2 separate regions of the Homo sapiens genome follow, and region 1 is linked to region 2. Evidence: promoter capture Hi-C in 16 types of primary human blood cells and fetal thymus (Javierre and others, 2016). All regions are on one chromosome and are shown on one strand. The core of a region is centred on a gene start or on the middle of the fragment in contact, and the rest is flanking DNA. Distances in the headings are between cores, read along the strand shown. Region 1 holds the start of MCUB (mitochondrial calcium uniporter dominant negative subunit beta). Region 2 holds the start of LEF1-AS1 (LEF1 antisense RNA 1).

What was found. The method cuts DNA at HindIII sites, captures the fragments that hold promoters and counts their contacts. A CHiCAGO score of 5 or more calls a contact.
Region 1: the fragment with the promoter of MCUB here is called in contact with the fragment with the promoter of LEF1-AS1 in region 2 in 2 of 17 cell types (non-activated CD4 T cells and naive CD4 T cells); the score reaches 5.9 in non-activated CD4 T cells.

What each region holds. Positions count from the first base shown.
Region 1 is chr4:109,555,944-109,563,417 of GRCh38, reverse strand. It overlaps MCUB (mitochondrial calcium uniporter dominant negative subunit beta), which reads right to left and starts at 3,172. Exons shown (of 8, transcript NM_017918.5): 1 at 2,982-3,172. The coding sequence starts at 3,080. RefSeq lists an enhancer at 2,286-2,485 and a silencer at 2,906-3,225. The HindIII fragment of the contact is 4,460 bases long and covers 1-3,834 here.
Region 2 is chr4:108,162,098-108,168,858 of GRCh38, reverse strand. LEF1-AS1 (LEF1 antisense RNA 1) reads right to left here and starts at 1,334. Exons shown (of 3, transcript NR_029374.1): 1 at 1,026-1,334. LEF1 (lymphoid enhancer binding factor 1) reads left to right here. Exons shown (of 12, transcript NM_016269.5): 1 at 1-1,304; 2 at 3,696-3,762; 3 at 5,158-5,291. The coding sequence starts at 1,092. It overlaps LOC124900752, which reads right to left and starts at 920. Exons shown (of 2, transcript XM_047416528.1): 1 at 1-920. The coding sequence starts at 359. RefSeq lists enhancers at 238-327, 1,355-1,856 and a silencer at 1,734-1,973. The HindIII fragment of the contact is 8,163 bases long and covers 1-5,664 here.

The sequences.
Region 1 (7,474 bases), core at 1,923-4,422, 1.4 Mb before region 2:
GTTCATTAAATTAAAAAGATGAAAACAATTTCTAAGTTGACATCTTGTGGTGGAATTTAAACATCCATATGCTTTGTTTCTAGAAGTTAAAAAAAGCATACTCGATACTTAAGCTGCTCTGCAGAGTGCTTGATGTAAAAATTTTTTAAACATAGCTTATGTATGGACTCAAATGCTGTACTGGGGACATGAAATCGTATCAGGGAGTTTCTCAGTCTAAGTAGCACAAAATCCAAATTAAGAAAGGCACATTTAGGCAAGGGCTTTCTGTTCAGATGTAACTCACCAAGCACCACAATTACTCAAAGCTGAGTCTTTGTGCACAGAAACATCAGCAGGAGCCATGGATTGCCCTGACAACCACTCAGCTAGAGTGCTGACAAGCAGAGATGCTGCCACCAGAGCGTGATTATGGCCACCAGGCCATGCCTTGCCCAAAGATGAATACAATATGCTCTTGCTCTACTACGCTTCAGACTAAATGTGTTCTTTAAAAAACAATTCTGTATATCCATGTCAACAAACTGTTTTTTTTTCCCCTCACCCAGAAAACACTAGCAGACAATTGCTCACATACAATATGAAGTATGAGAATTGTGTATTTTTCAAAGTTATTAAATGCTCCTATAAGGCACACTCATAGAAGTGTGAAAGACTTCAGAAAGACCAATTATAGTTGGGAACGCTTATTTGAAATACTGCTTACGACAAGTCCTTGCAAGCTAAGATTTTATGAGCTGTCAGGTCACAAACTACTTGTTTTTCTAGCTGCTTCATAGGCTCTAGGGGTCTGAATGTTTCTGGGAAAAAAAATAAATAGAAATAATACTTGCCTTTACCCACAGGATATTTCATAACAAGTGGGAAAGCCACAAAAGAGTGATATCTTAGAATGAAAAATGTCCCGATAGCCAGGTAATTTGATTAGCAGAAAATGGTTTAGTAGTCCTAGCTAAAACTCCTCAAGAGCCAGAATATTTTTATCGGTTTACTCATGGTAAAATGTAAAAGCTGTATATAAAGAACAGCATTTCCACTTCTCAAGTTCTGAAAATTGTCTTTATAGCTGGACAGTTGGCTTAAAACAAAAATTTGCAAATTAGAAACATTCAAACATAACGCTTCTTACGATGATTCCTAACTACTGTTTCCCTGTTATTAGGCCTAATAAGCCCGATGGTACCATTTTCTTTTAAAAGGGTATCCACATTCCTGCTGAGGTATGCAATGGCACCACCCTAGACAGCATCAGATGGGAAATATGGAGAAAAGGATTTGCAGGTGATAATTTGAGAAAGGGCAGCCAGTCCCGGGATCCACAAAAATGCTACTCAACGTGTTAAATGGACTTAATAGAAAACACTTGGGGCTGGTCGCGGTGGCTCACCCCTGTAATCCCAGCACTTTGCGGGGCTGAGACGGGCGGATCACAACGTCAGGAGTTCGAGACCAGCCAGTCTGGCCAACATGGTGAAACCCCGTCTCTACTAAAAATACAAAAATTAGCCGGGTGCGGTGGCGCGCGCCGGTCATCCTATTTTCTGGGGAGGCTGAGGTAGGAGAATCGCTTGAACCCAGGAGGCGGAAGTTGCAGTGAGCCGAGATCGCACAACTGCACTCCAGCCTGGGTAACAGAGCAAGACTCCGTCTCCAAAAACAACAACAAAAAACAATAATCTGTGTTTAAAATGGCATGTGAAAGGGGTTCCTCGTATTGGGTTGTTTTAATGTTTGGTATCTCTTTGACTACACAATGCAACACTTACAGTAAAAGTACAACCTTTAAAAGTATAAAAAGCCCATCTCCCCAATGACTTTATAAGTCTACCATTTTACATTTTAAGGAGTTTGCCCCTGTTCTTACATTTAGTAACAACATGGCCTTCCTCATTCTCTTTCAAACATTCCTGGAATTGATTTTCTGAATGCACTTAATCCTTTGGTCACAAGCTCAATGAAAAGGAAAAAAAAATGCACTTAAATATTCCCTGCATCAATTGAAACTGAAGCCCTCAGACAGCTGGAGGAAAAGGGGGGGAAGGAAAAAAAAGAACAAAATAAACAGGAAGTGAAAGTGACAAGAGAATCACACTGCTTACTTTTTGGCTTTTAAGCCTTTAACAATCTGAAAGTAATCTTAACAGTGTGGGGGAGGAACAAACGAAAACTCAGAAACAGCTCCCTCCCCAACCACACACACCCTGAAGGCTTTGGCTGTCTTTCCTCATCTGGGTCAGAGTTTGCACTCCCGGGCTCCTGTCAGGCTCCATCGCAATCCTCCTTAAACTCAGCGCTTTCCCCTTCTTCTAGTCTTTTTTGGTGCACATCCACTCTCTACTCCTCCAAGCCACGGTTCTCCACAGACCACAATACAACGGTGTCAGGCCAACTGTTACTCACCAGCACACTCATGATTCACCCGTCTCTCGGGTGTCTGAACAAAACGCGAGTTTTTCTTCCTTCTGGGAAAGGGAGGTGCTCGCAGATTTCAGGATGGAAATTTCACTCTCCTGCGACCGTCCACACCCGGGACGGTCACTGCCCCGTTCATCGTTTCCGGGCTCCTTAGGGGCTCGGGCACTGATCACCAAGAGGGAACCGGCCCCGCGGCGCAGCGGCTTTGGAAACTTGCTCCTGACCGAGAGCTGCAGCCCAGAAACTGCCTCCCAGGTTATTCTGCTGCTCCCAGGCCGAAGTCTGGTGGTCCCCGCACCCTATCTCGGCCCGGGTGAGGCACCCCCAGCCGCAGCGCTCTGGCTTCACCTTCCCCGGGCCCGGAGTCTTGACCTCAGCCCAGGCCTCCGTGACCCACGTCGGCCGCCCGGCCACCACCTGTCGGGACCGCCCGGCGCGCGGAGCCCGGCAGCCAGCAAAACGCAGTTGACTGCTCGGCCGCTCGGCTTTTGCTCCCGCCAAAGTTGTCCAACGCAAACTTTGCACCAGCCTACCCCGAACCCCCACAGCCCGGCACCCGCTCTTACCTGGGGCGGAGGCGGCAGCGGCCACGGGCGCGCTGGGCGCCAGGTGCCAGGGGTCGGCAGCAGCCGCGTGCGCCACGGCCAGAGGCCCCTCTGGAGCATCCTCCCGCCCCAGGCGCGCGGCTCCCGCAGGCGTCAGCGGCGCATCCTCCCTCAGCCGGGCTCCTCGTCAGCGCCTGGTGGCTCCGAGCTGTGGGCGCTCCCGCCCCGCCTGCTCGCTCAGCGCGCCGCGGCTCCAGCTTGGGCGGGCTCACGGGAGGGTGTGTCCCTGTTTCCACTTGTCGGCTCTCTACGCATCCGGGCGCAGGGCTGTTTTCTTTCCTCCGACCAAAAAAAAAAAAAAAAAAGAGAGCGAGAGAGCGGGAGCCCGAGAGCGGGAGCCCGAGGTCGAGGGCCCCCTCCTTCTCCAGCAGAAGACCCTCTGGAATGAACAGCAGCAGGCGACGCACACCTTGCGAGCTCTAGATTTCAAAACTCGCTGTTAATTCCCGGTGCTGCGTGCTCTGAGCGCCGTCTTCGCCATCCAACCCAGACGGGGATGAGACGAAAACAGCGTCCGGCATCTGGAGGGGGCAGGGCCGCTCAGGAAGTTTGTTTTCCCCACCGAGCTTGGAGAAGACGGATTGAAGCGGGTCGGCCGAGGCCTCTCCCACCTCCACAACCTCCAAGGCCTCTGCCCCGGGCTGCGGTGCCGGGCCCCTGCTCGCTGGCGAGTGCGGTGTGAGGCGGGCAGCCCGGGCCTACCCCTGCGGAGGTTTGTAGTTCACGGTATAGGGGCCCAAACCCGAGTTTTTTGGGAAAGTATCTCCCACAGAATTGGCTTCTCTTTTGAAGCACGTTTTTAATTGAAGAAGCTTCGGAACCGGTATTGAGTTCTTCTAACTACTGGGAAATCGGATGCTTTGTTTTGAGACTACTTATTTTTGAAAGCAAACCAAAGGCATTAAAGAGCAACCTAAACCAATTACAGTAGGGTTGTTAGATAAAATATAGGATGCCCAGTTAAACTTGAATTTTAGATACAAATAGTGAAGTATGTCCCAAATATTGCATGGGTCACATTTATTATTTTAAAAATGAAATATCTGGGATATACTAAATTATTTGGTGTTTATCTGAATTCAAATTTAACTGGGCACTCCGCATTTTTATCTCCTGAATCTGCAAGAGGGTTCAGTTAATGAATCAAAATTGGCAAACCTGCAATAAGTGGCAAATCACTCCTGGCGGTAATCTCCTTTCCTTATTGAAAAGGGAAAGAATCACAAGTTTCTACTATAGTAAAAACTTTATCACTATTAAAGGCTGATTCACCTGTGTTAACTAGCATGTCTTTCAAAATACAGTTGCCCCAGATGGAGAGTGACACATGAAACTTTAAGTTCATATGGGAAGGTAAATTACCTTACCTGAATCTTTTCCTCCTATTAGCTAGTGCTCCAAGTGAAAGAAGCGTGTATTTTTGTTTTTTTGTTGTGAAGGGTTCTTGTTTAATACAACTGAAAAGAATGCCTATACAAAGAATTGACATGAAAAAGCATTGATTCAACACTCATGAGCTAGGTTCTGAAAGGTGTAAAAAAATTACCTGAACATTTTTAGAAATTGGAAACTACAACTAAAACTGATAAAAATCCCTATTAACATTTGTGAAGAATCTTGATAATGTGTCCTGAATTGGTGGGTTCTTGGTCTCACTGACTTCAAGAATGAAGCCGCGGACCCTGGTGGTGAGTGTTACAGTTCTTAAAGGTAGCGTGTCCGGAGTTTGTTCTTTCTGATGTTCGGACATGTTTGGAGTTTCTTCCTCCTGGTGGGTTCAGTGGTTTCGCTGGCTTCAGGAGTGAAGCTGCAGACCTTGGCAGTGAGTGTTACAGCTCTTAAGGTGGCGCGTCCGGAGTTGTTCATTCCTCCCAGTGGGTTCGGGTCTCACTGGCCTCAGAAATGAAGCTGCAAACCTTCACGGTGAGTGTTACAGATCATAAAGGCAGTGCAGACCCAAAGAGTGAGCAGCAGCAAGATTTATTGCAAACAACAAAAGAACAAAGCTTCTAGAGCGTGGCACGGGACCCAGACAGGTTGCCACTGCTGGCTCTGGCAGCCTGCTTTTATTCCCCCATCTGGCCCCACCCACATCCTGCTGATTGGTCCATTTTACAGAGCGCTGATTGGTCCGTTTTGACAGGGTGCTGATTGATGTGTCTACAATCCCTGAGCTAGATACAGAGTGCTGATTGGTGTATTTACAATCCTTTAACTGGATATAAAGGTTCCCCAAGTCCCCACTAGATTAGCTAGACACGGAGCACTGATTGGTGCATTTACAAACCTTGAGCTAGACACAGGGTGCTGATTGGTGTGTTTACAATCCTTTAGCTAGACATAAAGGTTCTCCAAGTCCCCAGGAGATTAGCTAGATACAGAGTGCTGATTGGTGCATCCACGAACCCTGAGCTAGACACAGAGCACTGATTGGTGCATTTACAAACCTTTAGCTAGACAGAGTGCTGATTGGTGCATTTACAATCCTCTAACTAGACATAAAAGTTCTCCAAGTCCCCACCCCTCTCAGGAGCCCAGTTGGCTTCCCCTAGTGGATGCCATGCCAGGGTTGCGGGCTGAGCTGCTTGCCAGTCCTGCGCTCGTGCCTCGTGCCTGCACTCAGCAGCCCTTGGGCAGTCAATGGGACTGGACGCCGCTGAGGCAGGGGCGGTGCCCCTCAGGGAGGCTAGGGCCTAGCAGAAGCCCACCGCGGGGGGACTTGCACATGGCGGGCTGCAGATCCGAGCCCTGCCCCATGGGGAGGTGGCTGAGGCCTGGTGAGAATTTGAGCGTGGCGCGGGCCGGCTGGCAGTGCTGGGGGACCTGACGCCCCCCTCTGCAGCTGCTGGCCCAGGTGCTAAGCCCTTCACTGCCCGGGCCGGGGGTGCCGGCCGCCCTCCGAGTGCGGGGCCACGGAGCCCACGCCCACCCGGAACTCGCGCTGTCCCGCAAGGCCACATGCAGCCCCGGTTCCCACCCGCGTCTCTCCCTCAACCTCCCTGCAAGCAGAGGGAGCTGGTACCAGCTTCCGCAAGCCTGGAGAGGGGCTCCCACAGTGCAGCAGCGGGCTGAAGGGCTCCTCAAGCATGGCCAGAGCGGACTCTGAGGCCAAGGAGGCGCTGAGAGCCAGCGAGGGCCGCCAGCACATTGTCACCTTTCAATAAGATTCTTTACACAATTTTTATTAAACCAGAGAGCCAGCCAGGCGTGGTGGCTCATGCCTGTAATCCCAGCACTTTGGGAGGCCAAGACGGGCGGATCACAAGATCAGGAGTTCAAGACCAGCCTGGCCAACATTGGTGAAACCCTGTCTCTACTAAGAATACAAAAATTAGCCGGGCGTGGTGGAACGTGCCTGTAGTCCTGGCTACTCGGGAGGCTAAGGGAGGAGAATTGCTTGACCCCGGGGAGGCAGAGGTTGCAGTGAGCCGAGGTTGTGCCACTACACTCCAGCCTGGGCGACAGAGCAAGACTCCATCTCAAAAAAAAAAACAAACCAGAGAGCCTCATTTGGGGGCTCTTGGGTTCCTCGTCTGCTACACAGAAGTGAGGAGATTCCCCTGACTGATCTCATGTTGTTAAGTGTTCTATCCATCCCCACCACACCCCAACTTCTTCATGAAGCAGGTCTCCATCCTTATAACTTGAGAGGCTGTGAATCATTCCATAGATGTCGGTCTTCTGCTACCGCTCTTCACATTGCCTCTACATACCAGGTCTTCAGCTGCATTCTAGAAACATCATATACTATTGATTGCAAATCTATAATAATATAAGACAATGACTGACAGGGAAAAAAGTTTTTTTAAGTTACAAACTCAATCCACTTGTTGCATTTCAAAGGTGCAATACTTTTCTTTATTCATCAGTTAAAGAAGTTAGAAATTAACTTCCCCAAAAATCAGCAACCGGCAAACAAATTTCCTTGAAAGTCACAGTCACATATTTAGTGCATCCCAGAAAAGAACAGGGGCAAGAGAATTTTCACCCACTTTCATGAGTTTCATCAAATACTGAGCCTACTCAAGGGTGGAGAGAAAAGGTAACTTTCAAAAAGAGGTATGTTATTAAATAAGGCATTTACTATATTCTTTCCTAAAAGCACCCCAGATAGGGAACATGTTTTTTAAACTAGATTTAGGAAGTCGAATATGGAGTCAATCCGTCCTTCTCCTCTTAAGGACTGACCACTGGTTAATGAATTAAAAAAGAGAAAAGAAAAGAAAAGAAAAAAGACTAAAAAACAAACCCTACAAACACTCCTCCTCCAAAAAAGAAAAAAATAAAACCCCACTAAGATGTCCCAGATTACCCTCCAGAATGGACCCAGGGAGCAGCTTCAACAATTCCAATTAGTCTGTTACACAGTCATCACAAGCATGCCTTGCTTTTAAGTAAAAACAAAATTGTTTTTTGAAACAAAAACCAAAAATGAGTACTGATCACTTTTCTAA
Region 2 (6,761 bases), core at 85-2,584:
GGGCCGAGGAACCAGGACGCGCCCGGAGCCTCGCACGCGGCCAAGCTCGGGGCGTCCCCTCCCCTCGGCCGGGCGAACTCAAGGGGCGCAGCTCTTTGCTTTGACAGAGCTGGCCGGCGGAGGCGTGCAGAGCGGCGAGCCGGCGAGCCAGGCTGAGAAACTCGAGCCGGGAACAAAGAGGGGTCGGACTGAGTGTGTGTGTCGGCTCGAGCTCCGGGCAGAGGCATTTGGGCCCGAGGCCCCCGCTGTGACTCCCCGAGACTCCGCAGTGCCCTCCACTGCGGAGTCCCCGCGCTTGCCGGCAAAAACTTTATTCTTGGCAAACTTCTCTTTCTCTTCCCCTCCTCCTCGGCCCCCATCTTCTGCTCCTCCTCCTTCTCTAGCAGATTAAATGAGCCTCGAGAAGAAAAACCGAAGCGAAAGGGAAGAAAATAAGAAGATCTAAAACGGACATCTCCAGCGTGGGTGGCTCCTTTTTCTTTTTCTTTTTTTCCCACCCTTCAGGAAGTGGACGTTTCGTTATCTTCTGATCCTTGCACCTTCTTTTGGGGCAAACGGGGCCCTTCTGCCCAGATCCCCTCTCTTTTCTCGGAAAACAAACTACTAAGTCGGCATCCGGGGTAACTACAGTGGAGAGGGTTTCCGCGGAGACGCGCCGCCGGACCCTCCTCTGCACTTTGGGGAGGCGTGCTCCCTCCAGAACCGGCGTTCTCCGCGCGCAAATCCCGGCGACGCGGGGTCGCGGGGTGGCCGCCGGGGCAGCCTCGTCTAGCGCGCGCCGCGCAGACGCCCCCGGAGTCGCCAGCTACCGCAGCCCTCGCCGCCCAGTGCCCTTCGGCCTCGGGGGCGGGCGCCTGCGTCGGTCTCCGCGAAGCGGGAAAGCGCGGCGGCCGCCGGGATTCGGGCGCCGCGGCAGCTGCTCCGGCTGCCGGCCGGCGGCCCCGCGCTCGCCCGCCCCGCTTCCGCCCGCTGTCCTGCTGCACGAACCCTTCCAACTCTCCTTTCCTCCCCCACCCTTGAGTTACCCCTCTGTCTTTCCTGCTGTTGCGCGGGTGCTCCCACAGCGGAGCGGAGATTACAGAGCCGCCGGGATGCCCCAACTCTCCGGAGGAGGTGGCGGCGGCGGGGGGGACCCGGAACTCTGCGCCACGGACGAGATGATCCCCTTCAAGGACGAGGGCGATCCTCAGAAGGAAAAGATCTTCGCCGAGATCAGTCATCCCGAAGAGGAAGGCGATTTAGCTGACATCAAGTCTTCCTTGGTGAACGAGTCTGAAATCATCCCGGCCAGCAACGGACACGAGGTGAGCGGGCCGCTGCCCCAGTTCCGAGAGGCGTGGCGGGTCCCTGGGAAACTCAGAGAGGGAGGAAGGGAACGAAGGCGCCCGGCCGCCCGGCTGAGGGTCCCGAGTAGATCCCTCGTTTGTTTTGGGGTGTGTGCGTAGCTGGGCCCCCGGTCCGCAGTGTGTGTGTGTGTGTGTGTGTGTGTGTGTGTGTGTGTGTGTGTAGGATGGGAGGTAGAGGGGCAGGGTAACTTATTCCAAATGGATCAGTTTAGGGGGTTCGGTGGCTGAACGGTTGGTTCGCGGGCAGGAACCCACAATGTTTCGCCTTCGGTCTTTTTGTTGGGCTGAGGGGTGCCGTGCTTTAAAGCGAGTAGGGCTGAATAACGCTACTGATAAATTCTTCCGTGGGACGGAAAACAAAGTGCACACGCTATCTCTTGGTAGATGTCTCTGCAAAAGTGCGTTAAACCACCAAAGGCTTAGGTGGAGACGAGCAGAGCCACAGGCGGGAGGAAGGGGAGGCGGGCGTGGGCTGGGGCAGGCGGGGCCGTCCCTACCACCGGTGAGCCGGGCCGCGGGGAGCAGGCCGGCCGATGGGGCGCGCACCCGGGCTGCGGGGGCGGTGCGGGGTTCAGTCCCTGCGGCCCCAGCGCCTGGGCTAGCAGCTGGGAGCTGTGGGTGCGCCGAGCCGACCCACCGCAAGGGTACACCCTGGCTGTACCGCCCCCAACTCTAGTTTTCTCCAACCGCCATCACTTGGAAACAAACCCACAACTTTTATTTGGGGTTTGGGACCGGATCAGGCCTTAAATCTACGCAGAAGAAAGGCGGAGAAGCAGCGGAAGCCGGGCACTAGTCCTGCAGGGTGGAAGGCGCTTTATCGGGTCTTCTGGCCCGCTGCGGGCGATAGAGCTGGTAACCTGAGTAGAGTAAATAGAGACACGTGGGTGCTGGCTAGAGAAAGCGCGGAGCAGGGCCGCGCTGGAGGGCTGTTTGAAGCCTAGTCCAGAGCTGGTCTAGGGGGCGGATGGACCCTGATACCCGACACTCCACTGGTCACCCTTGTTCCACAACTGGGAAACCCTCTGGAGGAAATCCGGTAGAAAAGTCCTGACACCCGAATGATTTAACCAACGCCTTTTCCCTCCAAAGAAACTTGGAGGATATACCTTTTTTTCCTTAAATGGCATCTTTCTACCCCCAAAAAGAAAGTGTGTGGTTTTGAGGGCGGGGACATTTTGGGTTTTAAACAGCGCGTTTAAGAACACCTCAGATCTGCCTTCTCTATCCCAATGGCAGAGGTGAGTACGAATTTTGAAAGGCTGGGGGCCTGCGTTCAGAGAACAGAATGGTGTTCTTTACCCGTTGAATCCAGTTTGAGCGGGCTGGGGGCGGGGGTAGGGTGCACCTAACCCCGCGTAAAAGATTTGTGACTACTGTGTGCTGGGAAAAGGAGGTCAAAGGGAGGACACACGTCCAGAGAACCGAATAACATCCAAAACACAGGCTTTTTGCCAAACTCTCCTATTTGTAGAGCAGCCTCTCTTTCTACCCATTTTGCTAGTCCTGCCTTAGTCCATAAATAATTTTGCCACCCACTTCATATTCTCCACAATTTTCTGGTCCGGGTGAAGGACACTGCGTTCGAATCCGAGAGCACTCGGGTGTTAAGTGGGCATGAGGAGGCCTGAGGGTGAAGGAGTAATACCACTGATTTGCACGTGTTTGAGGCTGTCTGGGTGGATGGTGATTACCAAAACTGATATCAACTGGGCTACCTTTTAGATGTCTATAACCTGACTCTCTAATTTTCCTCCCTTTAACCACAGAATCGTTCTACTTTTGTAAGCCTGCACTCAGCCAGCCATAGTAGGTTATAAGCTCGAGTGGAGCTTCTGCTGTAACTGCGCTCAGGGCAGTTGCCTTAAGACCGCATCTGAGTGGTTGGCTTGTTTATGTTTAAATGCCATTTTCAGTTGCAAAATGATATTTCAGCCTTCTTTTAATCAGATCTGATTGAAGTGAACAGTGGTTGAAGAGGCTATCGAAACCATCAACCCCATTAACTCCTACTCCTGTAATATTAGGCATCCAAGGAGCCTTGATATGGTTTAATAAACAGCAGTCAGAACAGCATGTGGATCATTCCCAAATTTAACTATATTTTTATTGGTTTTGTTATTATTTATACGTTTTTGGTCCCGGGTGGATAATAATCACTCAAAAATACATGTTGACAAGAAAAGGATTATGCAGTACTAAACACTAGCGTATGTCTCTCAGAGTATAAAACAGAGTTGCCCCTAAACCTCTTCCTTTGAATTACCAGCGCACACACATTTGTACCATTATTGTCACAAACTCTAAGGTGATTTTCTTTCTTTTGGGTGTGGGGATTCATGATGTTAGGTGGCCAGACAAGCACAAACCTCTCAGGAGCCCTACCACGACAAGGCCAGAGAACACCCCGATGACGGTAAGACACCCATTCTACTTCTTCTGACTTTAGCAGATAAGGGGTGCAATTTGTATAAATAGGTGTGTTTTGTTACTTTTGAGTTCAAGAAACTGGGACTAGGTCAGACTATGCCCACTATTTTAATGGTAAAGAAAACGCAGGAAACTTATGGCTTACCTCTAATATATATTACATAATTTAAAAACTGTTTTTGAATGAGTTAGGGACCCTTGGATTTCAGGTGGGTTCCAGATTCTTTGGGAAGAGGGAATGTCTACAATGAGTTTTTCTCTTCCTCATCTTACCTTAAATCCTAATTAGCTTAGATCTTTAGTATTTTTAATATATTATTAAGAAGAACGACAGTATATATCGATTTATTTTCCAACCAGAATAGTTTTGAGTGGATTTTCACTTGCAAAATTGCTGTTTCTTGTTCCTTATTACAGTGAAAAGGCCGGCAGTAAATGAGCAGAGCAGAATCTAACTTGTAAAAATATAAAACTTATAATTAGGAATGTGCATATCAGAAATGATACCCTTTCTCCCTATTTCTGATTCTTGCTAAAAACTTTAAAATTACATACATATGTATTTAGACTTAAGGAGAATTCTTTGTGACTTTAAAAGAATCAAGTAACCTTAGGGATTTCTTGTCAGCCTATCTGTTTTCCATTAATTACTTAACAATTGGCCTAACTGAAATGAAGTGTTTTTACATACAATATGTCAACCAGGAGCAGGGAAGAGAATTATATATTAGGCTTCTTCCTCAGCTACAAGATAGTTACACAGATTAACAAGAAGAAATACACATATCGAACAGAAATTTTTTGGCAAAATGATCTAAGTGTAGCACATAAAATTAAGCCTCCCAGAGTTAATCCTTTATAAATTTAGATAGTTGCCTATATACTAGATAACAACTCTTTCAGTAGAATCTAGAAATTTTTCTAGAAATCTGCAAGCACAGGTAGAATCTTTGAGTTTGTCTACAAGGCAAAACATAATTTCAAGTGTATAAATCTCTGTGTTTGTGTGTAGCTAGATGGCCTAATATATTTATATTACATTTTTAAAGTTGTGTGTGTTCTGTATATTTTAGTCCAGTTTGTTAGTATTAGAACAAATTAAGTTAGATGGATAACACTTATTTTTGTAAAAACATCAGTCAGTAGTGGAAGAACTGTTTGAACTACATGTTTTTAAAACATCTGGTTTGCTGCTAAGCTATTTAAGAGAATAAATACTGTCAATCTAAAATAGAGCATAATAATCCAGTTACAGTATTTTGTAAACAAATCTTTTATGTAGGGTCTGATTTATCTTAGAACTATTAGATTTTCAGATGAAAAATACAGTAATATAAAAGGGAAGTCAGTGCATCATTGATTGTTCTTTGGATCTTCCCAGGAAAGCATCCAGATGGAGGCCTCTACAACAAGGGACCCTCCTACTCGAGTTATTCCGGGTACATAATGATGCCAAATATGAATAACGACCCATACATGTCAAATGGATCTCTTTCTCCACCCATCCCGAGAACAGTAAGTAACATGCTGATGTTGCAAATTATGTTCAGAAGTGCAAATTGATTTGTATTTTGGCAGAATGTTTATTTTTCCAAACTCATTGGTAATGCTTTCATTATATATAACTAGTCGTTGCTAAATAAGAGCTGTTATGAGGAATGGCCACCTTAAAACAGTGCTACCTTTGATGTCTTGCCTTTGAAATTTTAGCTTTTGGCTTATTGATTAAAATAAATATGTAACAGATCATAAGTTATAAAATCAAGTGAAGTTACATCAACAAATCCCTGATTTTATGAGTATTGTGCATTCTATGCTGATGAGAGGAAAAAATTGATTTACTTTTTCAGCTAAGTAAGGACTGTATAGCTTTTAATGCCCACAAGCTTTCTAGAATCAGAGCTACTTTAGCTCATTTGGAGCTGAATGTTTGTTATGTTACTTTGGCTTTTCAAATGGTGTCTTGTTTTATTGTATCGGCCAATGTTTCCTTAGGATCGGTTTGGCGGGGATGAGTTATTTTTGCTTTATTGTCAATTGTTGAGAAAGCATCACTCAAAGATAACCCTAATGAAAGTTGTTCCTTTTTTTTTTAATCTTGTGGTTTAGTTAACTTTTAAAATTCTAAAAATGCAGTGGTATTATAACTGCATTATGCAAATGCATAACATTATAAAGAATTTCAGGTTTATTTGATGATATTTCTCTTAGGAAGTGGAAACCTCATTTAAGTGAGAAAATACCTAAATGGTAACTTGTGTAGTATGTAGATGTAAAATGTGCTGGTGATGGAGTTCTCTCTTAGAATTAGCCCACCAGCGTTGGTGACGGACTTTTTACTGACCCATCAATATATTTACCTTCTCTCCAGCCCCACTCTCCCTTTATCACCTAACCCCCAATGAAAAACACATGTCTATGGGTCTCGGGGATTAGGGTTCCAGTCTCACTGACAGCCCTGGAGGTCAAATCTCAGATTGTAAAATGGAACCTATAGTGTTTGACTTACTTGCCCAGTGTTTCTACCAACTGAAAAAAATCAGTCACAAACATCTGGGAAGAGTAACGTTGTTAATACCTTAGTGAACAAAATCTGGGAGTGAGAAGATTCACTAGCAGAGAATAGTGGCTCAAAATCAACAGTTATCAACAAGAGTATTTGTGGTTATCATTACACATAATCTTCAGTTGTTGAAATGATACTTATATCAAATATGATCACTTTGAGCACTGCAATTTAGATGTTATTGTAATTATTTTCCAATAAATTGCTAAAGGATATTTGATCTCTCAGCTAAGGAATAAGCTTTTTCTAATTTTTATATAGTAGTTAAAGTGGAGATCTTGGGGTTCTAATCTTGAGGGAGATCTTGTGATGGTTGCTGTAAGAAATAGGTATTTCATATTTTATTTTAAGGCTTTTCAAGTATTTAATGATAAAGATGTCTGTGTGATGAGGATGAATCTCCTACTTAAAAAGTAATT